3 separate regions of the Homo sapiens genome follow, and regions 1 and 2 are each linked to region 3. The links are contacts of gene promoters, found by promoter capture Hi-C in human tissues and cell types (Jung and others, 2019). All regions are on one chromosome and are shown on one strand. The core of a region is centred on a gene start or on the middle of the fragment in contact, and the rest is flanking DNA. Distances in the headings are between cores, read along the strand shown.

Region 1 (4,820 bases), core at 676-3,175, 420 kb before region 3:
GACCCAGCATAGAAATGCCTTTGTCCTTTGTATAACCAGTGGGCTTCCAGGAAATAGTCTCTTCTCCTTTTGTGGACATGTACACGGTGGGCTACAGTGGGTTCCAGTGGGCACTTTCCTTTCTTGGACGTGCTTTAGAATGTGAGCCTCTGATTGGTCCTGGGCCAGGCTATCACTTCAGCTCCTGATTGGTCCCTCAAGGTCCAGGGGCCAAGCTGAGTAGTGCTTTCTCCAAGACCAGTCAGTACATTCCTTCCTTTCCCAGTCCATAAAACCCCCTGACCCAGCCTCATAATGGGCAACCTGCTTGGGCCCCCCGCCAGCTGCAATGAGCTTTCTTCATTTGCTTATTAAACTTTTGCTTCAACCTTACCCTTTGTGTCCACACTCCCTAATTTTCTTGGTCGTGAGACAAAGAATTCTGGGTGATACCCCACAATGAGAGACTGGTACATTGTGGTGCACGGGCAAGACTGCAACAATATGTTTTCTGCTTGCTTGTTTGGACTGGCCTCTTCCTAACTCTCCAGAGTGCTCTCTCCCCACTGTGGCCCTGAGCTTTGCCTCACGGTAACACTGTGCTGCATGACACTCCAGCATGATCTGCATGTTTCTCACCTCCGGACCTTCCCCACACAACTTTCTTGCTGCTTGGACCACCCTTCCCACCTATTTTCAACTGTTTCTCTCCAGCGCATCTTTCATGATAAGGCTTGAGTGGAAGCTGTATCCGAGGCTGAAGGTTATCCATGCAGCTTTGAAACCATCTGTTTATGCTTCTGTTTACCCCCCAAATACTGTTTACCCCAATACTCAAAGTCAAGGTTGGTGACTCAACAATTTTCAGAACTTCTAGCTTATCAGTATAGCTTTATTGTACTGAACTGAGTTTTTCACCATGCTGTTACTGTCTTTGAGGTTAAAAAGCCCCCAACATTCACTCCTATTTGAATCATCTGTGCAAGACTCAAGCAGCTATGAATTCAACCACAGTGTAAAGTTCTTCCCTACAATGCTTTATTGTTATTCTAGCTCCCAAGAGAGTACCATCTTTCAGCCCAAGACCCTTGACAGAACCCCTTCAACTCTGTCGCCTTTTTTCATCTCTGGAATTCTGACACCACCCATGACCCCTCTTCTTGTTCATTTACTAGGTTTTGTTCCTTTTTTTCCTTTTGTTTCAATATCCTATTGTATCTGTTCCTTTTGGGCTTCACATCCTTTTTGGAAAGAGAGGCACAGGTAATATAATGAATGAGGATGCTCCTCCTCCCTGGTTCCCTCTAAGTCAAGTTTCTCCAACGCGCTGGTCTGCTTGGCTTTGAATGCGGCTCAACACAAATTCATAAACTTTCTTACAACATTTTGAGATTTTTTGGTGATTTTTATTTTTATTATTTATTTATTTATTAACTTATCAGCTATCCTTAGTGTTAGTGTATTTTATGTGTGGCCCAAAACAATTCTTCCAACGTGGCCCAGGGAAACCAAAAGATTGGACACCCCGCTCTAAGTGTTCCCCAAGTTTCCACTGTTTTCAGAGCACATGTCCCAGGTAATAACACACAGCCCATCATTTAGTGACTGCTCAGGGTGCAAGCTGTGGAGAAGAGAGTCCGACTACGAGCTGGTGCTCTAAGCCTCCAGCACGCTAGGACTGACGACGGGGATCCGGAAACAACAAGCTCCACTCCCGCAACACACACACACACACACACACACACACACACACACACACACACACGCACACGCACACGCGCACGCGCGCACACACGCGCACACACGCGCGCACGCGCGCGCGCGCCGCCCAAGGGTAGCCGTCTGCAGGGCCCCAGCTAAGCAGCCCGCGGAGAGCGAGCGGCGCGTGCGCCCCCGCTGATTGGCTGGCACAACCGGCACCGGAGCCAATGGGAGCACGCCTTGTTGTCAGGCGCGCAGCCGGACGGCGCGGTGGTCGGGACAGACTGGCCGTTGCTGTGGAGACGCCTGGTGAGTTCCTGGAAGGCTGGTTTGAAGGCGGTGCCGGGGTGGGGGTGAGGCTCAGCAGAGCCCGGGGCACAGGCCGGAGGGGCTGCAGGCGCGAGGCTGGGTTACGTGAGGAAGCTGGGGGTTTCGCGGGCAGCTTTAGAGCCCCAGTCAGGGAAACCGAGGCCGGGCTTCCTGGCTGCCTCGCGAGCCTCTTCATGGCTCTCGCCGCCGCCCTGAGGTGCCTAGAATGGGTTCCGGCCTCCGGGGAGGTTCCCAGTAACCGCAGGAGCCACCATTGATTTGGCGTCTGCTGGGTGCAAAGCCCAGCGCGCTAACCCTTTACTCGCGACCTTTCGCTTCACCTTCACAGCAGCCCTGCGAGGTGAGTGTTGTTATTGGTGCCATTTACAGGGGTGGAAACTGAGGCCGCGGGTAGGTGAAATGATTTGCTCCAAGTCACCCAGTGGGTGAGCGCGACTCCAGACTGAAAATTTTGACCGTTCTGCTTCACTGCCTCCCCGCAAGAGGCGGGCCCTGGCCAGATGGAACTCACCTGGCATTCCCAAGGTATCTGCACAAGTGGCTTTGGGAGTCACTTAACTCTTCAGGACCTGGGTTATTACAGGTTATAAGTGTGGGACCGTCGGATTCCATGTGGCTAAGATTCTTTCTATGTGATTATTGTGGTTAGAAATAGAATATGCTTAGAACAGTCTCGTTCAGCGGTCGGCAAACTTTTGTTGTAAATATATCAGTGTTTACATTGTTATATTGTAAGTATAATGAGTATAATAGTATTCATAATAGTAGTTTAGGCTTGGGGGGTCCATACTCTGTCTACTTAACTGTAGCGATGTAGTGTGGATACAGCCAAAGACAATACATAACAGACTAGCTGCGTCGCAATAAAATTTTAATTATAGGGACCGAAGTTTTAATTTTATATATTGTTAATATAATTTTCACGTGTCATGATTTTTTTTCCCAAATATGAAAAAATGTAAAAACCATTCTTTGCTCGTGGGCTGTACAAAAAGGGTGGGCTGGTTAGCTTGCAGAACCCTCATCTAGTACAAAGCCTCATACATGAGGGGAAACAGACTGAGAGACTGACATCTATGTCAAGTCAGTCACACAGCCAGGGCACTGCCACCACTGAGCTTAAGACATAGGCTTCCCACCTTCCAGGCCAGGAAACATCCCCAGTTATCACTCTGGATCAGGGTGCTGAGGTCTGAAGGTGTGCTACTCTTTATCGTGTTCTGAGGCCATGGAAACTATATTCTAAGGGGTTTGGAAACTTATTAGCTTAGACTAATAAGCCTGGTGAATGTGCTGCTATCTGAGGAAATGCAGCTGCTGGGCTGGGAGTCAGAAATGAATAGATATTTTTCTTTTTCATGATTATTCAATAGCTTTTGTGTGTGTGTGTGTGACGGAGCCTTGGTCTGTCGCCCAGGCTGGAGTGCAGTGGCATGATCTCGGCTCACTGCAATCTCCGCCTCCCGGGTTCAAGCAGTTCTCCTGTCTCGGCCTCCCGAGTAGCTGGGACTACAGACACCCGCCACCATGCTTGGCTAATTTTTGTATTTTTAGTAGAGACGGGGTTTCACCGTATTGGTCAGGCTGCTCTCAAACTCCTGACCTCAGGTGATCCACCCGCCTCGGCCTCTGAAAGTGTTGGGATTACAGGCGTCAGACACCGCGCCCGGCCTCAATAGCTTTTTTTTTTTTAAAAGCTCCTTTTAGTGAGTTTCTTGGATTTATGGTGAACAATACATAAATGGTTACCATCCTCACATTGCTTACAGATGATAAATATATAATCAAAATGGTTATTTCTTTTTAAGCTTTTTTTTTTTTTTTTTTGAGATGGAGTCTCGCCTGTGGCCCAGGCTGGAGTGCAGTGGTGCGATCTCGCCTCACTGCAAGCTCCGCCGCCTGGGTTCACGCCATTCTCCTGCCTCAGCCTCCCTAGTAGCTGGGACTACAGGCGCCTCTCACCATACCCTGCTAGTTTTTTGTATTTTTTAGTAGAGACGGAGTTTCACCGTGTTAGCCAGGATGGTCTTGATCTCCTGACCTCATGATCCGCCCGCCTCGGCCTCCAAAAGTGCTGGGATTATAGGCGTGAGCCACCATGCCCGGCCTCTTTTTAAGCTTTTTAAACTAATTTTAGATTTAGAGAAAAATTGCAACAATACAAAACGCTCTGTTATGTCCTTCACCCTGCTTTCCCTAATGTTAACATCTTACATAATCATACAATTATCAAGAACAGAAATCTAGTGTTGGTACAGTATTATTAACTACATTACAGATGTGATATGAATGTTACCATTTTTTAAATTAAGGTTGTGTTTTCATTCCAGGACCCTATCCAAGATCCCATGTTGCATTTAGTTATTTCTCCTTGGTCCATAACACTTCCTTAGTCTTTTCTTGTTTTCCTTGGCTTTGATGCTTTTAAAGAGTAGTGATCAGTTATTTTGTCTAACGTCTCTCAATTTAAAGGTTTGTCCAGTGTTTTCTAATGATTGGGGTGAGATTATGCATTGTTGGCCAGAACACAAAGACACATTATCTTTGTGTCTTTCTCAGTGCATCACATGGAGTCCAAGATATTGGAATGTCTTATTACTGGTGATATTTACCTTGATCTATTGGTTTACTTGGTGTCTACCAGGTTTCTACACCATAAAATTACTATCCCTTTCTAATTAATAAGTCTCTTGGGAGAGATACATTGAGAGGACACAAATTCTCGTTCTCCACAAATTTGCTCCCTGACTTTAGCATCCATCTGCAGATCTTTGTGGTGTTTGCCTAAAGGTAATTATTTCTCTCTTTCC
Region 2 (4,786 bases), core at 956-3,455, 330 kb after region 3:
AAAAAAAAAAAAAAAAAGAAAAGAAAAGAAAAGCCAAAGTTAGGTCAGACAAGGAGATAAATGACATTTGTAATGCACCTGATGTCCAGAATGCCTATCAATTCAATGAGCCCTTATGCAAGCATACATTTAGGAAGTTTAAGATACTGAATAGATTGAAAATTAGAACATTTGTGGTTTCCAAAAGGAGAGAAAGCGCCACCCTATGTAATAATATTTAATTTTAAAAAAAGTCTCACTGCAGGCCAGGGCACAGTGGCTCACACCTATAATCCCAGCCCTTTGGGAGGCCCAGGTGGGAGGATGGTTTGGGCCAGGAGTTCCAGACCAGCTTGGGCAAGGTGGGAGGCACCTCTACTTACAGTGATGACAGAAGCTTTCCAGAATCTATTAAAGTTTTTATCGAAAGTTTAAAATGGGCCAGGTGTGGTAGCTCATTCCTGTAATCTCAGCAGTTTGGAAGGCCCAGGTGTAAGGATGGCTTGGGCCAGTTCTAGACCAGCAAGACCGTGTCTCTACAAAATTTACATACACACACACACACACACACACATATATAAAATATGTATATATTACACACACACACACACACACACACACACACACACACACACATTCGGGCATGGTGGTGCCCACCTGTAGTCCCAGCTACTTGAGCTGGGATCAGCTCAGGATCAGCTGAGCCCAGGAGTTTGAGGCTAAAGTGAGCATCACTGTACTCCAGCCTGGGCGACAGAGCAGGACCTTGTCTCTCAATGAAAAAAAAAAAAAAAAAGTTAAAAACGAACAGCTCCATAAACATTGAGTTCTAGACCAACATACCTGTTTTTGAGTCTTTAACATGCTTCATATCTTGCCTGGTGTTCACCACCAGGTCTTGAAAAACTCCACCAATCCTTCTCTCCTGCAAGGGCGCTGTATGCAACCCAGCCTCAGGTCCAGGTTCCTTCACCCCTGCATAAATGTAAACGCCAGAAGTTTAAACAATAAAAAGGGAAGAATAGAAAAGACAGCATTAACACCCAGCATAAGTTTGTTAGAGGTAGAAAAGATGCCACCCAAGGTTCCAAAACACATTTCCGTGATATGTTGCCGCAAAAGCGTAACCTTACCCAGAAACCTTTCCCAAGGAGTCCCCAGTTCACATCCGTGGTTGCCTTGGCACTTTATTCATTCCTGCTACATATGTGCCCCATTTCTTTGGGTATTTGTTCATGGTACAAGATTCTAGAAACTTTGGTTCTGTCTTTAAGCCTATCTCCTGGCGCTATGCTGCCCCCTAGTGGGCATCATAAAATGCCAAATAAGCCAATCATTTAAAAAATCTATAAAACTGGCTTTTAATACAAAACTGATCTATCCTTTCTATTAAGAGCAACTAGGAAAGGATCACACTCACTATTTCAACTTACATTCTAAGGTTCATATCGATGTAGCTATTCTACAAAGTTAACATTTAAATGACAGCACAATGCGGTCTTTCAGTGACGAGAGGCATCCTGAAGGAATACGCACACGTTATTGTAAATCCCGTACACCTAAATGGCCAAGACGTCTGTGCCTTGGGTTACAATAATGGTTTGCCTCAAAATTTTACTTCTGGAGTCTAGTTTTTAGTTTATGATGATCTTACAAAGTAAGTGTCTCCATTTCTGTGACAGACTAACTACATTTTACACATAAAATTTGAAACAATTTTATCAAACTCCCAACTAGTTCCTGACACATCCAGCAATCAAATTCATCATATTAAAATGTCAGCAAAAGAAAACAGGTATCCTAGCTTGGCACCTTGGCACTCGCTACAAACCACATACTTTTATCTTTTCAGACGGAGTCTAACTGTCACCCAGGCTGCAGTGCAGTGGCACTGTCTCAGCTCACTGGAACCTCTGCCTCCTGGGTTCAAGTGATTCTCCTGCCTCAGCCTCCCTAGTAGCTGGGACTACAGGCGCATACCACCATGCCCAGCTAATTTGTATATTTTTGGTAAAGATGGGATTTTGCCATGTTGGCCAATCTGGTCTTGAACTTCTGGCCTCAAGTGATCCACCCACCCGGGCCTCCCAAAGTGCTGATGTGAGCCACTGCACCCAGTCCATGTAATTTACACATACTATTTAATAACAACCCTTCAGATAGGATCTGATTATTAAAAATGTGTTTTAATTTATTCAAATGTATAAGCTCATTTTATAGGTTCTGGATTTTGTAACCATTTGTTAATATTTATCTATAATACAATTCTTTTTTAGTGTTTCAAGTTTTGACTCATCACAAGCTATTTTGCTATAGAAAGCAAAGAGGAGAATCCAGACTGAAGTTGGATCACATTAGCCGAAACCTTAGCAAATGACAATATCTGAGCCTGTGTGCATGAGTGCTGTATAAACGAGGATAACCTGTCAGCCTGCAATGTAGGTAACAGGTTCAACCTGTTAATGCCACAATTTAAAGAGGAAAGAAAATGGTGTTCTTAGAATTCCATTAAGTTAACTTAGAGTTATCATCTGCAGATGTGTCATCTAAATTTGAAAAGCAATTATGTTGAACTGGCCAATAAACAGTGACCTCCATCTCCCTTCCACAAGTTAAGACACAAGGTGAAGAAAACACCATCAGATAATTCACTGCACAAAGAGAGACAGTTGCAAGCTGCACACACTTCCCATCCCACCAAACCTCACGGGAGTCCTGAGGCTATCTAGAACCTTCTACCGCTGTGGTAGCCCTTCACACATGAAGCATCCCCTGCCCCTCATGTCCTTCTTGCTTCCTTTCACCTTGAGACTGTGCTCCTCCTCCTGCTCCTCCTCTTGCTGCTCTTGGCTGCAGAGGTCTAACCACTGGGACTTCCTCCTGCAGCGGCCGGGGTGTCGACTGCAACTGAGGGGGCTCCTGGGTCTGCATGTTTTTGGAAATAGAAATAATGAGCAGTGCCCTACTGTGTTCATTCTCCCTCCAAATGGCACTCGCAGGGCACAAGGCAAAGGAACTTCCTCTGAAAAGCTCACATTCCAGTGACATAAACTAAGTTGTAATAAGCAACATACATAGCACCTTGTGTGGTAATTGCTAAGGAAAAAAACAAAAAAAGGACAAAACAAACCGAGGAGAATCAGGAATTACTGGGAAGGTAGGGTGTGAAGGGGCAGGTTTCACTAGCTGATGGGGGCAAAAGCGGGCCTCAGTGAGAAAGTGACACAGAACCCAAGACTTGGAGGTACTGAGTGAATTAGCAAAGTTACCCAAGCCAGCAGTGGAAGAAAAAGAGCAGAGTTCTGCAGTTGGGAACGTTCAAGGAAGAATGAGGCAGCCAGTGTGGCTGGAAGAAGAGGGTGAGAGATGTCAGTGAGATGAAGGGAAGGAGGTCATTTTAAGGAAATTGCTTCTGACTGATAAAATGAGAGCTGTGACAGAGGCCAGGTGCAGTGGCTCACGCCTGTAATCCCAGCACTTTGGGAGGCCGAGGCAGCCAGATCACCTGAGATCGGGAGTTCAAGACCAACATGGAGAAACCCCCGTCTCTACTAAAAATACAAAACTTAGCTGGGCATGGTGGCACATGCCTGTAATCCCAGCTACTCAGGAGGCTAAGGCAGGAGAATCGCTTGAACCCAGGAGGCAGAGGTTGCAGTGAGCCAAGATCACGCCATTGCACTCCAGCCTGGGCAACAAGAGCGAAACTCTGTCTCAAAAAAAAAAAAAAAAAAAAAAAGCTGTGACAGGATACCAGGCAGAGGAACGACATGAACTAATTTGTCAGGTTCCATGTTGGGAACAGGCTGAGAGACAAGGAAATAGCAAGGGATGTGAGCTGTTTGGGCCAGAGGCCAGGATAGGGGTGGTGAGAAATTGTCTGATACTGGATAGTTTTTGAGAAAACAATCCCGTGGTTGTTTTTGAGAAGGGCTTGAGGTCATGGAGATAGGATGAAAGCACAGACTTTTGGCCTGAGCAAATGGAAGAATGGAAGTCCTTCTGATGAGGTGGGTATGGCATGCTGGGGAGGGCAGGTTGGGAGTGTGAGTTGTCCACGGACACCCGTGGGGGTGTTAGGTGGTGCAGGAGAGGTTCTGGCCAACGAGATAAATATGGGGACCTGTCCACACACCAGAAAGCATTTTGACACTGGATAACTTCACCAAGGGAGTGAGAATATGGAGAAAAAAGATGAGGCTCAAGGGCTGGGTCTTGGCAATATCAAGAGGCCATAGAGGAGAACTCCACAAAGGAGAGCAAGTGGGGGTGGTCAGTGATGAAGGAGGTAACCTAAACGCCAAGCGGAGGGAGTTGACAGGAGAAAAGAGGTCTCAACTGTGCCAACTAAAAGTGAAGAGGCAAGTCTGAGGAGAGCTGCCCTGTGAATCTGGCAGAGTGGAAGGGCCCAGGGAAGGTTTCTTGATGAATGGGAGTGAACTCAGTGAGTCTGTAGACAGACGGGAATGATTTAGGAGAACACACACCTGCTGACTTGGGAGACAGAAAGGCAAGCTGCAGGAGACATGCCCTAGACAGAGGACTGGCTAAGGGGCTAAGTAGAGATATTTGCTTTAGGTAGGAACAAAGATGGTGCCCTAGGATCTCCAGTGAGGGGCTGGACTATGGGTTCAGATGCTCATGAGTGAGGGGACAAGAGAGGGAGCCACTGACACTCTCATTGGATGCTTTGTCTGTCTCGGTGGCACAGAAGTCTATGTTGAAAACCGAGAATTAGGACCAGGAGGAGGAATTGAGGTTGGAGGGCTTAGGAGAAGGAGAGGAGCAACAGTCAAACAGCAGAATA
Region 3 (4,508 bases), core at 474-2,973:
ATCTTAGCAATGCCTAATGTGGAAAGGCCTTGGCTTGGGAGCAAGTGGGGGAAGGTTTAGGGCAGACCAGAGGGCCGGTGAGGGGTGTGTGCTGGAGCGGGGAACCCGGGAGGGAGGGTGTTAGGCTTGAGGGTCAGGGGACACCACAGGGATTGCTGTTGGCAGAGGGACATATGAATGGTAGTTGGCCTGGGAGCCAGCATGTGACTTGAGAGCATCACGTCCTGCAAAGTCCAGGTGAGGCCTGGGCAGTGCCTGCTGTGTGGGACCACAGCCCCTGGTGGCTCTCAGCTGTGTCCTGACACTCCAAAGAAGGTCTTAGTACCCTCTCACAGACCTAATACCCGAGCCACCTAACCCCAAATGAGCTAGAACTGCCTTCCCAACCGTGTTTGCGGGGTCTGTCTTGTCTATTGCAGCGCAAACAGAGCCCTGAGCACGCAGGAGAGCAGAGGAAGGACAGACAGAAGATGGATGGATGGATGAAGGCGGGAAGCACAGGCTGAGGGGATTTAGGGCATGTGTGGTGGGGGTGCTGTGGAGAGGAGACTGCACAGGCAGGAGCTGAGCTGGTGAATGGGAGGGTTCTAGCTCCCAGAAGGGTCTGGGCCATTGACAGGAGGGGCTTGGTCCTAGGAGGTGGGTGGTCCAGAGGTTGCAAGGAGCAGAGGAGCCCAGATGGGGAAGGGAATGGAGCTGGGGTGCAGAGAGGAGCCCCCACACAACTGCCCACATCCTGTGCAGAACCTGGGGCTCTGGGTGGTGGGAAGAGGCAGTTTCATGGCGGAGGAGGCCTGGGCCCCTGCAGCCTGGACTCCATGGATCTGGCCAGGGACTGGGGAGGATCAGGTGGAGAGAGGAGCAGCAGAGCAGCTGCCCCTCGTCCCAGCACAGGGGATGATGGGAGCCCAGGGAAGGCAGGACCCTGGCTTCGGGCATTTTCTCTGCTAGAATCTCTCGATACCTCTCTCCCTTCACCTTCTCCTCCAAGTCTCACCCAGATGATGTTTCTGTGAGTTGCCATGGGGATTCTCTCACCACCCCCCGCCAACACCCCGCAGGGGAAGCTTGTTCCAGGAGTCACTGGGCAGGGGCTGCTGCTGCTCTTCTGTGCCCACTCCTCGGATGTGCCGCTGCAGCCCTGGTCTCTGGCATCGGCCGTCACCTGGTGGAGAGGCTGCCGGAGCTGGCCAAGCAGAGGGAGGCCGATGGTGCCACTTGGTGTCTCCTCTGGCATCTGGGCAGGAGACTTCTCCCCAGAGGCCCCGGGCTGGTCTGCCCGTGTCACAGGAGGACTCGCCTCTGGTCCCTCAGTGGCCTCTGCAAACCCTGAGCCAGCCTGGGGGAGGCTGCTCAGTGGGGAAGAAGCAGTGGCCAGGCTCTGCTTGGTCACCCTGCCCTCCTGTCAGCCTCCGGGGCTGCCTCGTCGCACCTGCCCAGGGACCCAACAGCCGGTCCTCACCCCTCCCATCCTCATTGCAGCCACCCTGGGGCATTGTGAGGCCCTGCACCCAGCACTGCCCCTTCAAGCCTCCCACAGGGTCCCGCCCAGGACTCCTGGGCTCTGTGTCCGCGGGGCCATCTAGAAACACTCCCTTGTCCCCCCTTCAGCGGCATAGTACCTGTTGCCCGCCATCTGAGGGAGGTGCAGGTGCCAATCCTTCACGTGACGTGACGTGGCTCACCACAGCCTGTGTACATGTGAGCAGCCGCGTGCAGAGGGGAAGCTCTGCCTGGGCCTCAGGGACTGTGACATGGAGCAGGAGCCGCCCCCAGCCAAGCTGCTTTCAGCACAGCGTGGGCCCCCAGCACCTTGGTGCGGGGTGCGGCCCCTCGGAGGAGGGCTGTCAGGTGAAGCCTCGTGTGAGGGGGTGAGTGGCCCCCAGGCGGGGAGGAGGGGGTGCTGTGGCCTTCCTGGCCCCTAGCCTGGACACATGGGGGTGTGGGGAGCAGGAGCTGGGGCCCCCAGCACTGGCCCCGGGGCTGCGATGTGGGGGCTGCTCTGTGAGGCAGGCTCAGAGCCTTAGCCTCCAGCTGCAGGGAGCTGGGTCTTGGCCCCATCTTGCCCACATCCTGCCACCAGGAGCAGAGAGCTGCAGCTGCACCCGGGCTGTGGGGGAGGGATGCCAGGTGTATCTCTGGGTCCCGGGCCCAGCCTGCACCCAGCGCCTGAAGTAAGGGCCACCGGGCAGCCCCGGAGGTCAGGAGGGAAGTGGAGCCCGTGCTGGGTGGCTGCTTACCACTGGGCAGTGAGGAAGGCACCTGCGCTGATGAGTTTGGAAGGGGTATGGGGATCCTGGGGCCCTGGGTTCTGGGAGGTTCATGCCCAGGCCCCCCTGGGCCATCCCAAAAGCCAGTCATAGTGGGGCCCACAACCTGCCGTGCCCTGCCGAGCTCCCGCAAGCCACTTGTTGATGCTTCTCAGTCCACCCCATGCCTCTCAACCGTTTCCTCCTAGACTAGGTCTCTTCATGGCGTTTCTGGGAGAATTCCTCAGTACTAGCTTCAGATCCCCAGTCGTCTCTTCCACTGTACGTGTGCCTGAAGCTCACCACATCCCTTACTTCAGTCCTTCTATTTTTCAGTCCCTGGATTTTGTATTATTTCTTGTTCATATCCACCTGTCCTTGTTTCATTTCCGCCAGTCGGTTCAGAAGTTCTCATTCTTGTCTACGGATGCCATTCCTTTCTTTGCCTCTTTGGAGATTCTAAAGGTCTCTGAAATCATTATTAGATTACTGTATTACCTTCCTTCCTACTGGAATGAATTCACCTCCATGTTTTTTATTCTGTTGCTTACCTTTCTTAGCCTTCATATACCTCTTGCGCTTTGAAATTGATTTGCGACTCCTCTTAGCTGAGCCAATGTTGTGGAGACAGGGAGTGGCCTGCAGTGCCTGAAACTGCAGGGCAGCAGCCGCCTCCCAGGAATGTCCTGGGTCCTTTCCTCCTTTGAGGTCCCCTGCCATATGCTCAGATGGGGCCAGGCACAGCAACGGGGGCACACCTCCCTTTGGCCCAGCAGTTGGGGTGCTGCCAGGCCTGGTGGAGGTACTTGGTAAACATTTGTTATGGAAAAGCAGCAGGAGGGTTCTAAGGCTGGGATTCTGGAGCCCAGGAACAGGCCAGGCATGGCTGGAGCGGGTCCGAGTCCGTGCACTGTGTCCTGTATGTTGCTCTTAGCCGCACTCAGGAGCAGATGTGCAGGTCACTGCCTAGAAGCTGGTGGGCACCTCCGTGCAGCAGGCTCTGGGGGGTATAGCCACCATCTGGGCATGTGTACAGAGGGCCTTGCTAGTGCGACATATGAGGAACCAGAAGATGTGTGGGTTTTGATTAAATGGAGTTTTAATTAAAGTGGCCAGGTTGGGGGAGGTGAGGAGGAAGGCAGGAAGCAGCAGCAGTTTTGAGTCTGACCGCGTGGAATCCTATAAGGTGGTTCTTTCAAGAGGCATTATGCACATTCCGCAGCATGTGTCCCCTGTCTGTATGGGGCAGCATCTGCCCTCTGATCTGTCCCCAACAAGGGGTAATCACAGAGAAGTATTACATTATTAATATTTAATTTCCCCTCCTGGTTAGCAACAGATGACTCAAGGAGTAATTAGATGCACAGAGCCAACAGAGAGGGATAGGAAATTGCCAGATCCTGGCCCCGCCCCCTCCCCGGGGCCTCTGACCTTCCTGTCACTCTGGGAGGCTTCTGAGGGAGGGGAGCTGGAGGCCCAGGAGCCTTCCTGCTGCTGTGCTCTCTGTGCGCACGGCCGCAGCCCTACACCACCTTCCAGTGCTCTTGGTGAGGCTGAGAGAGGTCGCTTCGTGCCTTTGGGCCTCAGTTTCCTCATCTGTAAAATGGGCTTCCTGGGACCAGCAAGATCACAGATGACAGTCATTTCCCAAGCTCCTAAGCAGGCTGCACAAGCTGTGTCTGAGGGTCCAGTGCAGTGCCTGGCCTCTAGGCAGGTGCCCCCTGGGACGCGTAAGGTTTGGCAGCTCAGCAGTGACTGGCATCGTGGCCAGCTGACTCTGTGTTGCTCCCCAGTTACGGTCCACGACACATTAGTAGCTTGAAACTGGGCACAAGGGGAGAATTTACACCACAGAAATCAGGCAAAGCCTGTAAGTCAGGGTGCCCCCGGCCAGGAGCTGATTTGCCAGCCTACGGCTGGGTAGCTCCCAACCTTTCCCCAATGAATGCACTCCTCTTCCCCTGTCTGCCCCAAAGGTGCCTCTGACTCCACTGATCTGCTTTGCTCAGGGCCGAGAAAGGCACAGCTGAGAGTGGATTCTGGCTTGGCAGGGGCCCAGGTTGCCTGTGGGTCCGGGCAAGCCTCACCCGGGATGTGCTGGCAGCAGCTGGGAGAGCCTGCAGGAGTGCTTAAGGAGGGGCTGAGGGAGAGGACGGGCAGCGAGGTGGCCTGTGTGGACCCTGCTGGCAGGAGCCGTGGGTGTCTTTAGCCCCGTGTGAGGCCGGCCTGGGCAGAGGGGTCTGTTGCTGTCACTGAGGC

Evidence for each region. The method cuts DNA at HindIII sites, captures the fragments that hold promoters and counts their contacts. A contact is called where the count stands out against the background at its distance.
Region 1: the fragment with the promoter of CABIN1 here is called in contact with the fragment with the promoter of ADORA2A in region 3 in 1 of the 25 tissues and cell types used here (mesendoderm cells).
Region 2: a contact is called between a fragment that was not itself captured here and the fragment with the promoter of ADORA2A in region 3, in 1 of the 25 tissues and cell types used here (thymus).

Annotation. Positions count from the first base shown.
Region 1 is chr22:24,009,379-24,014,198 of GRCh38, forward strand. It overlaps CABIN1 (calcineurin binding protein 1), which reads left to right and starts at 1,926. Exons shown (of 37, transcript NM_012295.4): 1 at 1,926-1,989. The HindIII fragment of the contact is 7,958 bases long and covers 1-3,972 here.
Region 2 is chr22:24,757,086-24,761,871 of GRCh38, forward strand. It overlaps PIWIL3 (piwi like RNA-mediated gene silencing 3), which reads right to left. Exons shown (of 21, transcript NM_001255975.1): 3 at 2,784-2,904; 4 at 823-954. Among named protein-coding and RNA genes, the nearest start is that of PIWIL3, 15 kb to the right of the region's middle. The HindIII fragment of the contact is 8,851 bases long and covers 1-4,786 here.
Region 3 is chr22:24,425,876-24,430,383 of GRCh38, forward strand. It overlaps ADORA2A (adenosine A2a receptor), which reads left to right and starts at 1,724. Exons shown (of 3, transcript NM_000675.6): 1 at 1,724-1,871. All of the region lies in intron 18 of SPECC1L-ADORA2A (SPECC1L-ADORA2A readthrough (NMD candidate)), which reads left to right. ADORA2A-AS1 (ADORA2A antisense RNA 1) reads right to left here. Exons shown (of 7, transcript NR_028484.3): 7 at 3,331-4,489. RefSeq lists a silencer at 1,805-1,914 and enhancers at 3,351-3,510, 3,585-4,508. The HindIII fragment of the contact is 18,723 bases long and covers 1-4,508 here.